Regions from separate parts of the Homo sapiens genome. Here region 1 is linked to region 2. Evidence: promoter capture Hi-C in 16 types of primary human blood cells and fetal thymus (Javierre and others, 2016). All regions are on one chromosome and are shown on one strand. The core of a region is centred on a gene start or on the middle of the fragment in contact, and the rest is flanking DNA. Distances in the headings are between cores, read along the strand shown. Region 1 holds the start of CRK (CRK proto-oncogene, adaptor protein). Region 2 holds the start of MIR22HG (MIR22 host gene).

What was found. The method cuts DNA at HindIII sites, captures the fragments that hold promoters and counts their contacts. A CHiCAGO score of 5 or more calls a contact.
Region 1: the fragment with the promoter of CRK here is called in contact with the fragment with the promoter of MIR22HG in region 2 in 1 of 17 cell types (neutrophils); the score reaches 6.1 in neutrophils.

What each region holds. Positions count from the first base shown.
Region 1 is chr17:1,454,853-1,457,552 of GRCh38, reverse strand. It overlaps CRK (CRK proto-oncogene, adaptor protein), which reads left to right and starts at 1,321. Exons shown (of 3, transcript NM_016823.4): 1 at 1,321-1,676. The coding sequence starts at 1,436. RefSeq lists silencers at 1,013-1,512, 1,603-1,662, 1,773-1,902 and an enhancer at 1,167-2,152. The HindIII fragment of the contact is 20,688 bases long and covers 1-2,700 here.
Region 2 is chr17:1,714,914-1,717,613 of GRCh38, reverse strand. MIR22HG (MIR22 host gene) reads left to right here and starts at 1,404. Exons shown (of 3, transcript NR_028505.2): 1 at 1,404-1,484. It also overlaps a transcript of WDR81 not described here. RefSeq lists an enhancer at 616-1,257. The HindIII fragment of the contact is 4,707 bases long and covers 1-2,700 here.

The DNA of each region.
Region 1 (2,700 bases), core at 72-2,571, 260 kb after region 2:
CTCACGCCTGTAATCCCAGCACTTTGGGAGGCCGAGGTGGGCGGATCTCAAGGTCAGGAGATCGAGACCAGCCTGGCTAACACGGTGAAACCCCATCTCTACTAAAAATACAAAAAGTTAGCCGGGCGTGGTGGCGGGTGCCTGCAGTCCCAGCAACTCGGGAGGCTGAGGCAGGAGAATGGCGTGAACCCGGGAGGCGGAGCTTGCAGTGAGCCGAGATCACGCCCAGGCACTCCAGCCTGGGCGACAGAGCGAGACTCCATCTCAAAAAAAAAAAAAAAAAAAAAAGAAAGAATGTCCTTCCCCATTTGTCATTCAGCAGTCAACACATGCTGCCTCCTCTGGGAAGCCCTCCTGGATTACTCCATAGACTGGCTGTGGGGGCTCTGCTCTGTGTTCATGTCCGTTTCCCATGATAGCGTTTGTCAGCATTTGTCATCCTTTTGTCATCCAGTTTCCTGGTTCCTCTCACTGGTCTGTGAGTTCGAGGAGTGCAGGGCCCAGCCATGATAACCTTTGCACCCGCAGTGCAAGTGGAGTGTCAACAACAATGTCCTAGGTGAATCAATGAAAATGAGAACGTCAGCTGGTCTGTGGAGAAGCTAGAGGAACGAGCAGAAACGGACCGACGTGGCCGGGCGCGATGTTTCTCGCCTGTAATCCCAGCACTTTGGGAGGCCGAGGCGGGCGGATCACCTGAGGTCAGGAGATTGAGACCATCCTGGCCGACATGGTGAAACCCCCGTCTCTACTAAAAATACAAAAAACAGCCGGGCGCGGTGGCTCACGCCTGTAGTCTCAGCTACTCGGGAGGCTGACGCAGGAGAATCGCTTGAACCCGGGAGCAGTGAGCCGAGATCGCGCCATTGCACTCCAGCGTGGGCGACAGAACAAGACTCCGTCTCAAAAAGAAAAAGAAAAAAGAAACAGACTGATATCGCAGGAAGCCTGGCCGAGAACTCAGGCCCCAGGGCCACACGCATCTTTTCTCCTCCAATTCTGTCTGGGAGTCGCTGCCTAGAAGTCCCAGGTCGTCCAGGAACCGGGGCCCAGACGAGAAGCACCGCTCTGTCCGCAGCGCAGGCGCGCGTCTCTGCGGGAGGCTGCGAGGCCCCGCCCCTCGGGCCCTAGACCCCGCCTCCCATCCCCCGCAGCCCGGGCCCGGGAAGGGCGGCACCGCCCATGAATCCGCATGCGCAGTGCGCGCGCGAGGGCGCCTTGCCCTTCTCCCAATGGCGGGCCGCGGGCCCCTTCCCGGCAGCCTCCCTCGGGCAGGGAGCGCGTCATTTCCGGAGGGGGAGGCCCGCGGCTGCCGCCGCCATTTCGGGCGCTGCTGTGAAGCTGAAACCGGAGCCGGTCCGCTGGGCGGCGGGCGCCGGGGGCCGGAGGGGCGCGCGCGGCGGCGGCACCCCAGCGTTTAGGCGCGGAGGCAGCCATGGCGGGCAACTTCGACTCGGAGGAGCGGAGTAGCTGGTACTGGGGGAGGTTGAGTCGGCAGGAGGCGGTGGCGCTGCTGCAGGGCCAGCGGCACGGGGTGTTCCTGGTGCGGGACTCGAGCACCAGCCCCGGGGACTATGTGCTCAGCGTCTCAGAGAACTCGCGCGTCTCCCACTACATCATCAACAGCAGCGGCCCGCGCCCGCCGGTGCCACCGTCGCCCGCCCAGCCTCCGCCCGGTGAGGGACTGACGGGACGGCGGGCCCTGGGCGGGGTGAGGGCCGCGGAACTCCCAGCCTGGCTGGCTGGTCCTCGAGAGCGGACCCTCGGGGGTCGTGGGCAGAGGGCTGGGTGACCGTGGCAGGGGCCCGCCGGCTGCTCGGGCTCGCTCTCACCCGGGGAGCAGGAGTGTGGGGGAGGAGGAGCCGCGGACCGAGGCCCCGGGGTGTGCCTGGGGAGGGCAGCCGCGGGGAAGGGGAACTGCTTCGGCCCCAGGGTGGGGCTGGCTCCCGGGCCAGGCGCAAGGGTAGGGCAGGGCAAGGCAACGTGGGGACAAAGAGCTGAGGGAGATGTTGGCACTGCGGGGGCATCACTTGGCAGCGGCGCCCAGAATGAATCCGATAATCCTACAAGTGGCTTTTAGGCTGGAAACGTTTCCTGCCGTGTTGGAGAGCCGGGTTTGGCCGTGCTCCCCTGGTGGCCTTTGGTAGGAAGTCACCACATACTGGCCGGGAGGGATGGAGACACCCTCAGGAAACCGGTCAATTTTTTCCTTTCTTGGGCATTTTTCCAAAATCTTTGTACCGTTCTCTTCCCCCGTGGAGGACGAAGGTGGTGAACTAAGTGCTAGAAGAAATAGTGGTAGCAGAAAGCCTTCAGTGACCAGCCCAACCCAGTTTAAGGCGATGCCTGGCTATGTGCAAGAGATCTAAGCGTCCAGAAGACTGTCCGCCGTTAGAGAGTTCTGGTTTTCAAAGTGTTTAGTGGAGGAAAGACATTTTATTCCACAAAATAAACCAGAAGTGAGGCAATGGAAACAGACCCTTCCCTGTAAGTGACTGGAACTTCATTTTCCTTGGACTTAAACATTGTCGGTGTGTACTTCAGGGCGTCACCTTGCTCAGTAAGATGGGGCTGCGGGCTGAGTCTTCCTGGATATTGGGAACAGACTCTACGCCAAGAACATAAATTACCTGCGCTGGGTTTTCCTTGCCAGGGAGGGATCCCTGAGATTGACTGTCTTACCGATGCCGTTGGAGTTGA
Region 2 (2,700 bases), core at 155-2,654:
AGGTCACACTTTCCAACAATCAGCTGTTACTGGGGCGCAAGGCAGGAAGTTTCCTTAAAGGCGCAATGTCCTGAACGCAGGCTCAGAATTTTGGAGCTCCAAGTGAACCTTATCAATTACCTGATGGAGTGCGTATTTAACAGAAGGAAGGATCTCACCCTCCAGCCTCATCATTCCTGCTTAGTTACCCTCAGCCCCTATTTGGAGCTGAAGGAAAAGGCATGGATTTCAGTCCACATGTTCCTCTTTGGGGGACTTGCGGGGATTGATAAGGTAGGGCAGGTCTCCGGCTTGCCCCTTTAAAAACGCCGACCAGCAGCTTTTGCCAAGTCACTGGGTTCATTTCACTTTTTGCCCATCCCCCGCTCATCTAGACTCTGATTGGCCCCTGGGGAAGGAGCAGCCTGCTCATTGGTCTCCACCTTCGAATCTCTTCCCTAAGTAGGCCTGAGTCAGTGAAGAGCTTTGGAGGGCGGGACTGAATGGGGGTTAATCAGAGGATGCGATTGCTGACCCTTTGCACTTTGGCATGGCCCATCCCCTAATTTCTGACCAGAAGCCCTCCCTCTACCCTAAGGTGAGGACTGTGCTATGAATCTTTTGTTAGAAAGCTACCTCTTGGGAGGCTCTGGGGGCTCTTCTGGGACTGGGAAGAGACATCCAAGAAAAAAAGCCTCCTGTGGTTAGGAAGAGCCCCCAGGAGGAGTGGGCTGGGCGAGGCGAGCACCCTCCCTCCTCCAAAAACCCTGGAGAGCTCTCCAACGGCAGTCTCTGCTGCCCTGGGGGCTGACGCTCTGCCCACTCCTGCTCCTTGGTCCGCTCCACCTTTCCTTAAAGAGCTATAGCGTCCCGCAGAGGCCGGCGAGTCAGTTTGGGGAATGTCTAAAAGAAGCACTCACGACTCCAACAAGGAGGGGCTGTCGCCCTTTAAGGACTTCCCCGGGCTGGATTCCGAGCTCAGTTTAAAAATGCCAACTCACAGAGCGCGCTGGGTTCTGGGAACGACGGTGTCAGGCTGAGAACTACACGGACCAGCATGCATTGCAAACGCAGACGCCGTGGCTTTCGCCTGCTCTTTAGGACTCTCGTTTGACGTAGCGCTTTTCTAAGCGGGTCGCTGACGCGGAGGGCTGGGCCACACCTGTCCGTCTATTGGCCGGCTCCTCAGTGGGTGGGCGTGGCTTCGTGCAATTCCGCCCGGCAAAAGGGTGGCCTCCTTGCCAATCAGAGCCAGGGCGCCCGGAGAGGCGGGACCAGGGCGAGGCCCCGTCGGCCCCCGGGTGGGCGGGGCCACGTTGCCCAGCAGTGGGCGGTGATTGGCCCCGGGCCGTGCATTCGCAGCTCGTGCGTCACGACGCCGCCAGCTGATCGGAGCCTGGAGCCGGTGTGTGCTGGGTGCCGAGAAGAGACAGCGCCGCCGGCCGTGGGGAGCGGACGCAGTGATTTGCTCCCCCTCGTGCAGCAACCCCCACACCCAGCACCAGGTGGGTGTGAGCTGGCGACCCGGTCACGCAGCGGGGAGCCGCGGTAACGGGATGGAGGGTGAAAGTGGGGTCCGGGCGGCCACACCCAGCCCTTCCGGGAGGAGAAGGGGCGGCGGGGGCAGGGGCGCCTCGGGGAGAGGGGCCTGGACTGGCCGGGTTAGTGTGTCAGGAGCTACGAGGAAAGAGTCTGGGACGGGAGTCGTGGCGGAAGGGCTGGCGGAGTGGCGGGGGGCGGGGGGAGAGCCGAGGGGCCGGAGGGCCGGGGGCGGCTCACCCGGCGGCCCCCGGTCTGAGGATACAGGGGCCGGCCATCTAGCCTGGGGAGGGTCTGGACCCCCCGAGCGGGCGGCGAGGAGGTGCTTTGCCTCTGCCGGCGTTCACTGGGTCAGGGCCAGTTCAGCGCCCTGGCAGGGAAGGGGTCGCTGGGCGGGCCGGCCCCTCCTCTCGTTCTCTCCAGGGGATGTTATGTAAGGGGGGAGGGGAGAGGAGTAGGGGGCGGCGGTGCCGGGGCCTTATGCAACCCAAAGGTTAGGGTTTCACCGTGGTTGGGCGGGGGGAAGAGGGCAAGAGGAGGGCCTGGAAACTCTAACCCCCGCTCCCCAGACTAACTGGCCGTCTTGGGCCGAGAGAAGGTCACCTCTGCACCTCCCCCCAGCCTGTCCGATTGTGAGGCCCCTAGCCCAGGCCTGGCCCTGACTGCCTGGGAAGCCGGCTGGCTGGGTGGGGCGCCTGGGTTAGTCATCACTGGGCTGCCTCTCTCCCCACCTCTCGGCCAACTCTTGGCCCCTCCCCATGGCCTCCGGCGAGGCTGTCACCCCCACCTCCCTCCGGCCCTGGTTCCAGCCTCCAACTCCTTTGGCCTGTCATCCTGGCTGTCAGATTGGGCTAGGAGCTGTCAGAGTGCCAGAGGGTTGATGGAGCAGCTGGTCAGAGGGTCAGTGCCCTGGGCCCACCCCGCCCTGCAGCCAAGGGCACCTGCTTGGCACAGACTCTCAGCAGCTGCTGAGTCCTCTGGGTTGAACAGAGCTATCTCAGACAGAGGAAGGTCGGACGGAGTTGGACTGGTCACCCAGGGGAAGGAAGATACACAAAGTTCATGCCTCCCAAGAGGGTTTCGGAATTTGAACCGCACCCCGTATCCCCCAATCTTTCTTACCCTCTGAGTATAGAAATTCCAAGGCAAGACCGCCTTGGCCCCTCAGCCTGGCGTGGGCCA